Regions from separate parts of the Homo sapiens genome. Here region 2 is linked to region 1. The links are contacts of gene promoters, found by promoter capture Hi-C in blood cells and fetal thymus (Javierre and others, 2016). All regions are on one chromosome and are shown on one strand. The core of a region is centred on a gene start or on the middle of the fragment in contact, and the rest is flanking DNA. Distances in the headings are between cores, read along the strand shown. Region 1 holds the start of LCE2C (late cornified envelope 2C). Region 2 holds the start of LCE1A (late cornified envelope 1A).

Region 1 (7,103 bases), core at 2,057-4,556:
TAGGAAAGCTCAGGTAAGAGGCTCTATTGGGATCAGGACCTTTCACCCACCCTTTCTCTTTCTTCAGACCTGAAGTACAGCGTTGCAGATCAGAACTCCATCAGGCATCTTGAGATCACCAACTGTTTCTCAGGAAATAAGCACTAATAATGAAATGACAAGACAGAGGGGTATCCATCTCTGAATACTCCAGGGAACCACCATACCAGCCATGGACTACTGACCTCTGACTTAATCACATGTGAGTGGAAATAGCCTGCTCTCCTCTTTAAATTGCTGTGATTTTGAGTTCCTGTGATAGTAGCAGAACTTAATTTCTAACACACATGCACACATGCCAAACATAAGATAAGATGCAAGTAAAAACCAATAGTCAGATTGGAAATTATTCTGTGTATGGAAGTTTAGATAAGGAAAGGATTATGTTCACCATGAAAGGAGCACATGGAGCCCCAGATAGCAGGCCCACTGGAGAAGGAAAGGGCCGGTGAGTTGCTCTTACTTAAGGCAGAGGTCCCTGAAAGCATACTCGGGTGTCCACCCCTCCGCAGGCCAGCCTTCACCTGCCCCAGGCAACCTTAGGTCCCCCGCTTGGTGTTCCATTTTATACTGTTTGGGTTTTTTTATTTGTTTTGTTTGCTGACATGTAAACACTAAGGACAAGGAAAAACTTCTTAACCAACTCAGGAAACCCTGAAGCTATGAAAGCAAAGAAAGTCATATTTGAGTATTTAAAAACTACAAATATTTCCATAGCAAAAGTTATTATAAACAGAGTCAATTAATTATGATGTATTAAATATTTTAATAAAGACAGATCAAGGTTAATATCCATGATATATCAAGAGCTCTTGAAAATTGAAAAGAAAATTTAAAATCCTATTACAAATTTTGTAGAAATAGCCAATGTACATATTTATGGAAGCTCAAAATTACTACTGGTCAGGGACTTGAAAATTAGTTAATAATGAGACTGGCAAAATAATAAAGAGCATTGAGTCAAATAAACTGACTCAGTGCAGAGGGTGATTTAAAATGCAGACAGTACAGAATCTCAAACTGGTTAATCAGCTGGGTTTTTGTCTTAGTGGCACTAAGGGTAAGTAAGAAGGTAAACATATTAATAAGAGGCTCCATCTCTGTCAAAATCCGTCTTTGCTGAATCCATTATCTTCATGTCGACACCTGTCAGCCTGAACCTAAGAAGCACTAGCCCTTGTTTCCCCTGCTGTGTCCCTGCTTCCCTCCCCTTCCTCTAGTAATACTTAAGATGCCCCACCCATCCTGGCGCTTCTCCCCCCTCACATTCTGAGGGTGGCTTGGCAAAAAAGATAAGTATTGAAGGAGGAAAGGTCTATTCTTTCATACAGCGTTTTGTATTCTTTGTATTCTTATGTTCCTTATATTCTTTGTATCTTCTAAGCAACACTTCCATGTTTTTTCACTTAATATCTCCATCACTCATCACTCCCCTGCCCAGCACGTGAGCCAAGTGGCAGGACAGCATCCTGGGACTCAGATCTAACACTGTGAGGAACTGAAGCCAGGTGTCCAAGGCAGCAAGTCAAAAGGCTGATCTTAACCAGACTCATGAAAAGAAGCTGAGTGACCATGGGCTGTACTTTACAGGAGGAAGGGTCTCAACATCTGTTTCAAGCATTTTATCCAACTATTGATTCTAAGGGCAGGAAAGTTTTGCTTCATAGGGATGTGTTCTTCTCCCTAGAGAAGAACAAGTCTGCAGAGCTTCCCAACCTTCCCAACGTCTGGATTACACAGAAAATTAGAACATGTGTCTGGCTTAGTGGAGAGAAAGGCAAAGCTACCATAGCCAGAGGTGACCCTCTTGGAGCTCCATTCACTCAGCATCTGGGGGAATCAGTTCCTCAGAGCAGCTTTTCATGTATCACCTACTCATGTCCTGTCCTAGCCTCATGAAGAAAATTACTCTGAGGCCCTGACCTTTGGAGGACATTTGAAATCTCAGAAGAGAAGAGAATGACCAAGACATTTAGTGAGTCAGAGATCAGAGCTTTATTATAACATGAGGTAAAGGAGGAAAAGAAGACTTGCAATTGGGGTGTTACATCAAGCACGAAGTTCTTCCAGGAAAGCCCCATGAGTCTTTGTGGTCTCTGCCAACCAATGAATGGAATGAGAGGAAGTGGAAAGAGTATCCATCAGGCCGTAGCAGGTTCTTGGCCATTCAGTCCCAAGAGCTCTTCTGTAGCCCAGGTCAGCAGCAGCCCCCAGAGCTGTGGCAGCAGCCAGAGCCCCCAGAAGGTTCACTCTCACAGCAGTCGGGGCTCTGGTGCCGGCGCCGGTGGAAGAGACGGGGCCTGTGGTGGCTCAGGGAGCAGCCACCAGCCCCAGAGCTGCAGCAGCCCCCAGAGCTGGGACCACAGCAGCTCCCAGAGCTGGGACCACAGCAAGAAGAGACTGCAGGGAAACATGGAGCTGGGCACTGTGGTGGGCATTTGGGGGGACACTTAGGTGGACATTTTGGGGTACACTTGGGAGGACACTTGGGAGGGGGCTGGCACTGCTGCTGGTTTTGCTGGCAAGACATGCTGGCAGGAGTTTAGTCAACCTGAAAGATAATAATGAAACTCTTTAAATATTTCAAACCAAGGATCATATTATACCTCTTCTAAAATCAATGCATGTGTAGAAGAAGAATGATATTTAGATAATACAATCACATCAGTAACCTGAAAGAAACAACTTGAATCTTTCCTCTAGATAAAAGTACGTAGATAAAAAATCAACAGAATGAGCTTCTTACTCTTCCTTTCAGGGGAAACTGCGATTGCTCTATCCTCACAAGCCCGAATAGAGTATTCACAGCTCCCTGAAGTACCTATTCCTTTAATACAAGCCCTAAGGACAAGCTGGGTGTTGCAGGACATACCAAGGGGTCCTCTGGAAAATATTTTGCAATGAAACCTCCAGATAAAAGAGCCTGGCTTGAAGTATTTGCCAGTTTCCATGGTGTAAATATGCCCAACACAGCAGTTTTGAAGTTACCAACATGAAGTCACTGAACACAGAATTGGAAAAGATGTGCACAGTTAGCTTTCCCCACCTATATGAGCTCCGGTAGGCCTCAGAGCCTCAACAGATTCGAGGCAGGCTGAGTCCCATTCCTGCTCAGTATGGCAGAACACAAGCACACAACTCTTTCTCCAGCCTACCTCCATCCTCCCCATCCCTCTGCCTTGCTCATACCCCTCTGGTATCCCAGGTTGCCACTCACCCTGGTCACACGCAGGAGCACAGACACGTCCCTGGGGAGTCAGAGCAGATGAGATGCTGAAGCTGGATGTGTCTTTTATAGGGCCCAGGCTTGGCTCTGGAAAGAGCAGGAGGTGGCTCTTGCACAACCAGGCACACGCTGGGTCATTCCTGACATTCTCCTGCCTCTTAGTCCCTGCAATCCAAAGAGGCCTCAGGAGCTTCCAGGACTCCTCTCTGGGGCTGCAGTCTAGAGAGGCTGTAGCCAGTCAGAGCCTCCACCAGGTGGGAACCCTAAAGAGTTAACTTAGGGTACCCAAGGGACCCACACCTGGACAAGATTCTGTTCCCTGCATTTTTTTAATGCATGTCCTCTGAGGAAACATCAGTTCTGAGCCACAGCTTTCCCTGACCTTGTGGAAATGTTCCATTATGACTCCCTCCACCCTGAGCAGTTTCTCTTCCATGTCCTGCTGTGGATCCAGCCATCCCAGAGGGCTTCTACAGCCTTGGCTTTTTCTAGGCATCCCTCCCTTGCCTAGGCTCTCAGCCCTTCCTCCTGGCCTCTGTGTTTCTGCTTTTCCTCCGACTCACCATGGCAAGCAGATTCGGTGGATTAAATCTGAGTTGATTCTGTCACCTAAAGCAAGGAGAATGATTGAGAATAAACAATTCCCTCTAAAATCTAAACATTTCCTTCAGTCAGAGGACTTGTATTGAATGTGCTACTGGAATCAGAAAACTTGCATATGATAACTGGGTAATCTCTGAAAGTTGCTGTAACAATTATCAATAATTGCTAGAGTATTACTATGATACTCACTGTGAGTATCAGTTCTCACATATAATGCCCATTATAAACCTATCAGTGAGATATACCTATCTCACTGAGCTGTTTGTAATATAAAGTGAGAAGCAAGAAAGAGCTAAGTATGACATTTTGTGCCTGATAGACCCTTAATAAATATATGTTTAATAGAAAAACTAATGCCATGTATTGGATACTTGCCCCGGTCTTATGTGTCATTAATTGCCCATATAGAGCCCTTACCCTCAGAGAGCTTAACTCCACCAGACACTTAGATTATTTGAAACCTGTCTTGGGAAGTAGACATCATTTCTTGGGGCTCCTATGCAGAGGGAACTCCTTTCCTACCAGGAAGTAGAGGGTCAGCCAGGAATCTAGTTATTCAGAGTTCTGATTCAGGGTTGCACTAGACAGAGTTACCCAGTCATTTATTCATTTAGTTTAAACAGATACATTGAGTGTGAACCTTGAAAACATTACACTACGTGAAAGAAGCCAGTCACAAAAGACTGCATATTGTATGATGTTATTTATATGAAATGTGTAGAGTAGGCAAATCTCTGGAAATAGAAAGGGGATGAGGCTTTAGCCAGTTACAGCCTCTCCCAGGCTGGACCCCTGAAGAGCTGACTCAGGGCATCCGAGGAACAAGAGCCTGGATGAGATTCTGTTCCCTGTATCTCCTTTTATGTTTATGCCTGTCCTCTGAGAAATATCAGTGGCTTCCAGGTGCTTTAGCGGGCTGGGAGATATTGAGAAGTTACTGCCAATGGATACAGGTTTTCTTTGTGAAGTAATGAAAATGTTCTAAAATTATGGTGGTGATTGTCCAACTCTGTGAATATACTGAAAACCATTGAATTTACACTTTAAACAAATGAACTACAAATATGTTAATTACATCTCAATAAAGGTGTTAAAAATTAGAATTGAAAAAAATAGATATTCACACCTCTGATTAAAACAGAAACAGACTGTGCCTTCACATTGCCTAATGCCTACTTAGTGGGGGAGGGGAGGATGCGGAGAAAGCATAGTTTCCCATTGTCAGCTTCTAACTGAGGGATTCTGTTCTCCTAGTTATGCAATCCTATTATCAGATCTGATTCCTGCTCTCAGGAAGCTTTTACCTGAAGGATAAAGTAAGTCAACAGTGTGGTCAGAGCAGTGAATTCAAAAGGCATTCTTTGAAAGCCTACAACGTTCTTGAATCATGTATGTCCAAATATAGGGATATAGAGGTGAATAATAAGTAGCCCATGACCTCAAGGACTGTAGAATTTTTGTAGCCTTTTTGAAGATGACTGCAGACAAACATAGGTCCAAAGAAGATGACGTTTGGGGCCTGAACCTCCTGAGTCACTATTTCCCAGTGTGATTAGAACATGTTAGTTCATTCCACTGTCTTCATGGTGATATCACCCTCAGCTTCCTCATACTCTTTGACAAAGATATTTGTAACAATGTGGTAAGTGAGGAAGTAGGGGAGGCAAGTCTGTGTCTGTGTGTGTGTGTATGTGGGTGTGTGCTCTGTATGTGTGTATGTTGTATTTATACAAAAATTCAGGTAAAATGAACATGCACATACATGAGCGTCTGTATTGAGTGGTTGAATAAGCGATGGAAGAATTAATGGGACCCGATCCCCTGGGAAACCAGAACTGGGAGATAAGCAGCTGTTTAACATGTCCCCTTTGTCCCTTTATATCTCAGAAAATGTTGATAATTAGTTCACAAGTCAGTGAAGAAACACCTGCCTGCAAGTATTCTTGCTTCTGTCTCCACAGCCCTCACATCATCATAGGTGATCCCTCTGAGCCAGAAGACCCCATGTCACATTGTGCATGTTCCCTCAGGGACCAGCCAAACACTTAATTGTCTCATGAGTGTTGGCAGAATCAATGCATGATTGCAGGACCACATGAACAAGTACACAGGTGACATGAAAAGAATGGCCTGGGATTGATTCCAGACATTTCATCTGAAGTTCACCTCATCTGGAAAGTCAGTCTCCTGAAAGCTGATATTTCCAAGTAGCTCCTTGAATTGTCTCCCTGGGAACTTAAACTCCGTATATTCCAGAAAATTATCCCCCACCAAATGCTGGAACTTTATTTTAGCCACAGTACAAGAAAAAGCCTTACCATGTCCCTTGATGTATCTCATCTTATTTAGTAGATTCACTAATCCAAATTTTCCGTTTACTATATCTTTGTAGTCCTTTTCATCTTCTTGTCAACACTGTCTGGCACTGTCTGATTTTGGCCCAGTTTCCACTCCTGAAAGGGTATGTGTGGAGATAAGGGTTTATTGAATTGTAATTTCCAAAAAGTTAAAAGCATGACTCATATAAATATATAGCAGGCATATTATAAAGATTTGTTTCACTTGTTAATAAGAGAATCAGCATGATGGTAATGCTGGTTCAAAGAATAGGAGAGACCAAAAAAATTCTGGAACAAGATTGCAAATTTAGATACAAAACTGGTTAAAGTTTTCAAAGGCAATGAAACCATTAGGTTAAATTTTCTAGAGCACACAAAATAATTTTCAACTTACAAATCTTCTATAATTTAAATCTAGCTTTACAGTGTCTGGGCCTTGATCAATACCAAATACATTAAGTAAAATCATGCCACCATTTTTTTTAAAAACCTAGAGAGTCATATACACCTTAGGCAAGGTTGTTAGTTACTAGGAAGAAGTAAAAATTTAAAAGACTAATCAGAAATCACTTTTTTGCTTAATTTTAAGTTTTGGATAAGTTTAACCCCCAATTTCCTAACAAGAGATGGTTTCTCAGAAACTGGGGCTTCAAAACCCAGGTCCAGAATGGGTTCTTGCTGAAGTCATATTGGCTGATGGACATCAGAGGGGCATGAATTCCAGGCAGAGAGCTGCTGGAGAATTCACGTGTCGTGGTCCTGCTAGAGCTGGGACTCACTTCAGATCTTGGTATTAGCATAGCTTATAAGAGATGTCCCAACACTGCCCCGCATCTGTTTTGCCTCATCTGGGACATGCCATTTTCCTTGCCTGGTTACCAGGGTGAGTTTGCCAG
Region 2 (7,217 bases), core at 2,577-5,076, 150 kb before region 1:
CCAGTTTTTCTGCTCTGTTTTTTCCCCATCTTTGTGGTTTTATCTACCTGTGGTCTTTGATGATGGCGACGTACAGATGGGTTTTTGGTGTGGATGTCCTTTCTGTTTTTTACTTTTCCTTCTAAAAGTCGGGACCCTCAGCTGCAGGTCTGTTGGAGTTTACTGGAGGTCCACTCCAGACCCTGTTTGCCTGGGTATCAGCAGCAGTGGCTGCAGAACAGCGGATATTGGTGAACTGCAAATGCTGCTGCCTGATCGTTCCTCTGGAAGTTTTGTCTCAGAGGAGTACCCAGCCCTGTGAGGTGTCAGTCCGCCCCTACTGGGGGATGCCTCCCAGTTAGGCTATTCGGGGGTCAGGGACCCACTTGAGGAGGCAGTCTGTCCGTTCTCAGATCTCAAGCTGTGTGCTGGGAGAACCACTACTTTCTCCAAAGCTGTCAGACAGGGACATTTAAGACTGCAGAGGTTATTGCTGTCTTTTGTTTGTCTGTGCCCTGCTCCCAGAGGTGGAGCCTACAGAGGCAGGCAGGCCTCCTTGAGCTGTGGTGGGCTCCACCCAGTTTGAGCTTCGGGGCCACTTTGTTTACCTACTCAAGCCTGAGCAATGGTGGGCGCCCCTCCCCTAGCCTCGCTGCTGCCTTGCAGTTTGAACTCAGACTGCTGTGCTAGCAATGAGCGAGGCTCCATGGCCTAGGACCCTCTGAGCCAGGTGCAGGATGTAATCTCCTGGTGTGCCGTTTGTTAAGCCCGTTGGAAGAGCGCAGTATTAGGGTGGGAGTGACCCGATTTTCCAGGTGCCGTCTGTCACCCCTTTCTTTGACTAGGAAAGGGAATTCCCTGACCCCTTGCACTTCCTGGGTGAGGCGATGCCTCGCCCTGCTTCGGCTCACGCATGGTTCACTGCATCCACTGTACTGCACCCACTGTCCTGCACTCCCCCTTGAGATGTACCCAGTACCTCAGTTGGAAATGCAGAAATCACCTGTCTTCTGCATTGCTTATGCTGGGAGCTGTCAGGAAACTATTTTTAAAGAAGTAAAGGAAGGTATGGTAATGTTTATAAAATAAATAATGTCAATAAACAGGTAGAATTTTTTTAAAGAATTAACTTGAAATTCTAGAGTTGAAAAGTAAAATAATTGAAATGAAAAATTCAACAATATATTGAACTGTCAGAAGAGAGAATCAGCAAATTAGATCAATAGCAATTAAGCAATTTAAATAACACTGAGAAAAAAGTAATGAAGAAAAGTAGGCAGAACCTCAGAAAATTTTGGGATATATGCACACCAACATATGTGTAATAGGAGTACAAGAAGGAGTGGATAGAGAAAAGGAACAGAAAACAGAAAAAAATTCAAAAATAATGATGTAAAATTTACTAAATTTGATGAAAAACAATCTATTCATTTAACAAGATCAACAAACTCCAAGTATGAGATACACAAAAAGACTCACATCTAGAGACATCACTGTAAAAGTATTGGGGAAAAAAGGTGAAGAGTGACTCCTGAAAACAGTGAAAGAAAAATGACTCATCACTTACAAGGAAACCCCAATAATATTTATAGCTTATTTTTAATCAATGAAAGCCAGAGGCATTGGAATGGCATTTTCAAAATGCTGAGAAGAAAAACAAAAAACAAGAATCAAAACAAAACTGTCAACTAAAGCTACACACAAAGAACAGTGGAAGAGAATTGAGTGTCAAAAATAAACCATAAATTGATGGTTAACGATTTTTTGACAAGGGTGCCAAAAATTTGACTGTTTCACTGAGGAAACAATAGTCTTTCAACAAATAATGCTATGGCTACTGGAAAACCACAAGCAAAATAATAAAATTGACCCTTATCTTATAACATTAAAAACATTTAACTCAAAATGGATCAAAAACCGAACTGAGGGCCTAAAACAATAAAAGTTGTAGAAGAAAATATACAAGAAAATCTTTATGACCTTATGGGAAAACACAGTCTTGGCTTTCATGGAACTCTGGTCTGAGATGGCTATATAGCAGCTGCCCTTAGGGAGCACGCAGTCCAAGTTGGGGAGAGAGAAACCTGGACCTTAGCGTGTGTCTGATCCCAGCTGGAACATTATTTCCTTTCTGGGGAATGGTATCATCTGTCACTTTGGCCACCAGTCAGCTCCATACTTATTAATATGCTAGTTGAATTATTTGGAGGGGTCACCCAATATGTGCAGTGCTTGAGCTCCTTCTTGTTACTGAAGCCAAAAGGAATATATCCCTCATCTAGTCTCCTGGAATAGTCAAGAAGCAGGTATATGGCTGAGAATCAGTGTACTGGATGTCCCTTGGGTGACTGACCAAAGACACAGGGACATCTAGAGGTTGTATTAATCAGAGCATTTGTGAGGTGGACATCACATTATTCCTACATGTTCTTGCTGTCTGATCTGCCAGACACCAGGGGGTTTTCATGGATTAAAAAATAAGTGCAGGGTATTGCCCACTTATCCAGTTCATAGTAAAATTATTGAGGCATAATACACACAACATTAAATTAACAATTATTCAATCTCATGTAAAATTTGTAATTGAAAAAATATTGATGAAAAATCAGGACTTCTTCACAAAATATAGAGACGAAATATTTGACTGGAAAGATTGGACTTGGGACTCTGGGAGAGAAAAGAAAGACATTGATTTTTAACATACTGATTCCTTTTCTACGGATTTTTAAGTTTTTTCAGATCATATTTACCACATGTTCTATGCATACTTGTAGTTAGAATAGTCTAAGATTCATGGTCTGTTTGCAGGAAGTTTACATATAATTTTCTAATATTTTTTACTGAAAGAGAATGAAATTTGGGAGTGAGTGGGCAGTATTGTAAAGGGGAGGAGGGGTAGATGGATGAAAGGATGGGGTGCATATCTGTCTCCCTGCCACACCCTGGAGACCAAGTAGGACCCTGAAGAAGTCCAAAGCACAAGGCTCTGTGTTCCTGAAACACCAGGAAGATGGGCACAGGCAGAGCCACGTAGTGATTCCTCTGACATAAGGTGTCAAAGTAGGAGCCATAGAAGTTTTTCTCTCCCCTCCTCCATATCTTTAGCCATGCGACTAGCACATCTTGATTTCCAAAGCTTCCAGGCAGCAGGAAAGTAGAGAGCAGTGAAAAAAATATTGGAGACACAAACAGGCAAGGAACAGTCCACAATAAGTGGCAAGAAGATCTTTTGCTTTATTGTTTCACTTGAGGCTGCAGGAAATGAGCTGGAGAGTGAGTTTGTGGCTTGGGATCCCAGAGTAGACAACACAGTTGGTGTCAGGGGCAGCAGATAGGTTTGTGGGAGAAGAATCAAGTTTCTGGATCCCAGGGCAGAGGGATCCTCTAGGCCAGAGCTCAGAGCCTTCACGCGGGCATCTCAGCCACTCTTGCAGGCCCAGGAGGAGACAGGTGAGGAGGAAATGTTTGATCACTCATTTCACCCGAGTCTGCTCTTCTAGGTGCAGAGTCCGCTTCAGCAGCAGCCTCCAGAGTGCTGGCCGCTGTCCCCTCCACAGCAGCTGGAGCCTCCCGAGGGCTGGCTGCAGCAGCCAGAGCTCTGGAGTCTGTGACGGTGGGACCTGTGGCGCCTGTGGTGGCTCAGGCAGCAGCCACCTCCCCCAGAGCTGCAGCCGCCCCCAGAGCTGGAGCCACAGCAGCCTCCGGAGCTGACACTGCAGCAGGAAGAGACTGGAGGGCACTTAGGGGGACACTTTGGGGGGCACTTAGGAGTGGGGCACTTGGGAGGGCACTTGGGGGTGCACTTGGGAGGGGGCTGGCACTGCTGCTGGCTCTGCTGGCAGGACATCTCGGCGGTGGGTGTTCAGGAGCTGAAGGAGAGTCAAACAGCAAGTTACAGCCAGGCACAGAGGCCACCCTTATTGCCTTTTTACCATCATTTATTTTTGCTACATTTTTAAAACCTGTTCAAATAAGTCAGAGAGAAATTATCTCTAAAATTGTTTGTCAGATGCTTTCACAATGTGTTATAGGATCATCAGGATGTTTTTATAAAATAGAAATAGACTATCTTATTTTAACCCAGCAATATAATGAGGACATCTGTATTAACAAACTTGCCCAAAATTAATGTCCTTTAAGTGGAAAAGGCAATCTGACATTCACAGAATCTGACTGAAGTCTACCCTTCTGCACCACTTAGAATTCTGAAAATGTCCAATCTAGGAGCCAGTTTAAACCTGCAGTTCTGCTTTTTAAAAAATAAGCAAGAAGACCCTATCTCTAAAAAAAAATTAGCTGGGTATGGTGGCACGCACCTGTAGTCCCAACTACTTAGGAGGCTGAGGCTGGAGGATCGTTTGAGCCCAGGAGGCCAATGCTGCAGGGAGCCAAGGTCATGCCACTGCACTGCAGTCTGGGCAATAGAATGACACTTTGTCTCAAAAATAAATGAAATAAAATAATAAAATAAAAATAAAGATTCCCTTTTGTAGGAGCTTCCCAGATGGCTGTATTTGGTTGACACAAACACACAATATATTATAGTCAGAATTGCAAAGGGTCATCATATGAGCTGGCTATCCCAAATCATATTATAAATGGAGAAATGAGGTCTAAAGCTAATTGTAGCAAGCTGACACGTGACCCTAGATTTCCCGGTCTGGTGAATCCATGCCTAGTGAAGCTCCCTCTTAGAACCCACAGACTCCTCTATCTGCCACCCTGGCAACCATAAATTTCAACTTGTTACTTGCTGTTCAACACTGGAGCTTCTGATATACAGATGCCCAGGCACCACTCATGACTAACTCACTCCTGATGAAGGTGTAAGGGCCATGTATCTCTGTGTTTATCAAGCTCCAAATATGCTTCCTCTGGTCTCCGGTCTCCATTATTTAAGAACCACTATAATCCCAGTACAGGCTTCGGGGAAGAGACACAGTTGAGTTGCTAAGATCTACTCTCTGAAAGGAAAGTTTGTTTTAACTTATCTGGAATGGGAGACACTAAAAAAAATACAGAACTAATTTGGATTAGAGCATGAAGCATAGACATACAAATCATCCAGGTGCTTCCCATCTCTCCTGCCCCACAGCTTGAACTCCATCAGAATTTCTAGACATTCTCCACCTCTTCTAATCCAGCTACCCCTCCCCAACAAAGCCCTGCCCAGCCTTCCCTCCTGCCCTGGTCTGGGCATCCCTCTGTGGAACCCCTGCTCCTTTTCCCAGTGGACGCTTACCGAGGTCACAGGCAGCACAGGGTCCTTCAGCACCTCAGGAGGTGAATGGATGGGGTGCTCTGGCCACGAGCCCTTTTATCCTGGCCTGGGCTCTGCCTCCAGCTGTGAGACAGGGCCTGGGAATGAAAGGATCTGTCTCCTGACACCCACATGGGTCCTGTGACAAGGAGTGACTGGCAGCTCCACATCTGCCTTTCTCCACGGGGCTCAGGGGAGCTGTTCCTAGTGTGGAATATGACTTAGAAATGGGGTGGGAGTGAATTCCTACCACCACCTGGTACCTTATTCTCTTAGAGGTGCCTACCTCTCAGTTCTCGCTCTTGAAATGTGGTCCCCCAAATGTTCTCCTTCTTCCTCTAGCAATGTGAATTTATGAGCTCCAGGCATCCAGGTTTGAACAAAGAAACACAGAAGCCTCTTAGCTTTTTCACATGTGTCCCACCACTTAGCCACTGGGAGTTGTTTACGTGTGTGGGTGCCTGTGTGTGTGTGCCTGTGTGCATGTTTCTTTTTTTTTTTCTTTCTTTTTTTTTTTTTTTGAGACAGAGTCTCGCTCTGTTGCCCTGGCTGGAGTGCAGTGGCATGATCTCGGCTCACTGCGAGCTCTGCCTCCCAGGTCCACGCCATTCTTCTGCCTCAGCCTCCCAAGTAGCTGGGACATACACATATATGTATGTACATATATATGTATATACACATATATGTATGTACATATATATGTATATACACACACATTTATTTTTTGGTCAGGCATGAAGCCAGCATTTGCATAGCACTATAGAGTTTATGAATAGTTATTCCACATGACTTAGGCTATCAGCATAAGAACCTGGAGCATGCAGACATACATGCTGAGGATATGTCATCCTGCAGAGATCTGTACCTATGTTGCCTGAGTGTGACTCTTCTTTTCCTGCTCAGGTTGTTACAAAAGGCTTTGTTATAAGGGAGTGGTCAGGATATCAATACCTTGGCTCATAGGTAAGTCTTACTCAGAAGCAGACTCACTGATTCTTAGGATACTTGGCCTGAGGGATCACATGATCCATGCCTCTAGTGATGTGGTACTCAATATGTCAATCAGTCTGATTTAGATCTGGATGGTAAGTTGGCAGCAGGTTTGAAACCTCATAAAGGTTGGTCTGCTTGCCTTAATTGTATGATGTCAGTGACTTAAATTTCATAAAATTTTTATTAAGCAAGTGACTGGCTTTTTAGATCTTCTGTTATCAAGGCTTGGAAGCTGACATGGCTGAGATCTAGAATGCAGCTATGAGGCAAATCAAAAGTAAAGCATTATGTCCCACATTGTAAATTTATAGGAATGACTGCAATACTTTTTTTCTAATTGTTTCTATGTCCATCTGTAAACTGGTTATTAATTAACACATTTTTGGAAATGTTCAATTTTTAAAGAATCACTCGAACTTCATACTGAGTGGTATCGTACTTTATGCTTTGGAATCAGCACCTAGTATGTTAATGGGTTATTTTTTTCACCCATTAGATCCTTTTTTATAACATACATTATTAAATAACACTCTTAAAGTAGAAAAGGATAGTTCATTATTTCTTATGCCTGGTGGCTCCCAAAACCATGTTACAAAAGGAAAACGTGATGTTTATTTATTTCTGAATAAAAACTTCATGTGGAAAAGAGCAACATGTAAACACTCCTGAAAGAGAAGTGACCAATTGAGAGGAAATTACATCACATATCTCAGGAATAAGATTAACACTGTTGACATGCAAATATACTTTACAAAGTAATAAGAAAAAAATTCCATGAAAATAATGGACAAAAGAGATAAGCAGGCAACGCAAAATGTTAGATTTATAGTGAAAAATACATGTATAAAAATAATTGTCTTTTATTTTTCTCTATGGAATTTATGCATTCATATTAAATAGGCAAAGATTTAAAAATTTTACAAACGAAGGGTGGATATGGGAGGGAAAAGTTACTGTGGATGGAATACCTTTCTGAAAGGCAAAC

What was found. Contacts are between HindIII fragments. The CHiCAGO score rates a contact against its expected background, and 5 or more counts as called.
Region 2: the fragment with the promoter of LCE1A here is called in contact with the fragment with the promoter of LCE2C in region 1 in 7 of 17 cell types (neutrophils, naive CD8 T cells, total CD4 T cells and 4 more); the score reaches 11.7 in neutrophils.

Annotation. Positions count from the first base shown.
Region 1 is chr1:152,671,482-152,678,584 of GRCh38, reverse strand. LCE2C (late cornified envelope 2C) reads right to left here and starts at 3,306. Exons shown (of 2, transcript NM_178429.5): 1 at 3,257-3,306; 2 at 2,016-2,590. The coding sequence starts at 2,569. The coding sequence ends at 2,237. The HindIII fragment of the contact is 8,836 bases long and covers 1-5,167 here.
Region 2 is chr1:152,824,082-152,831,298 of GRCh38, reverse strand. It overlaps LCE1A (late cornified envelope 1A), which reads right to left and starts at 3,826. Exons shown (of 1, transcript NM_178348.2): 1 at 3,202-3,826. The coding sequence starts at 3,826. The coding sequence ends at 3,494. The HindIII fragment of the contact is 5,440 bases long and covers 3,118-7,217 here.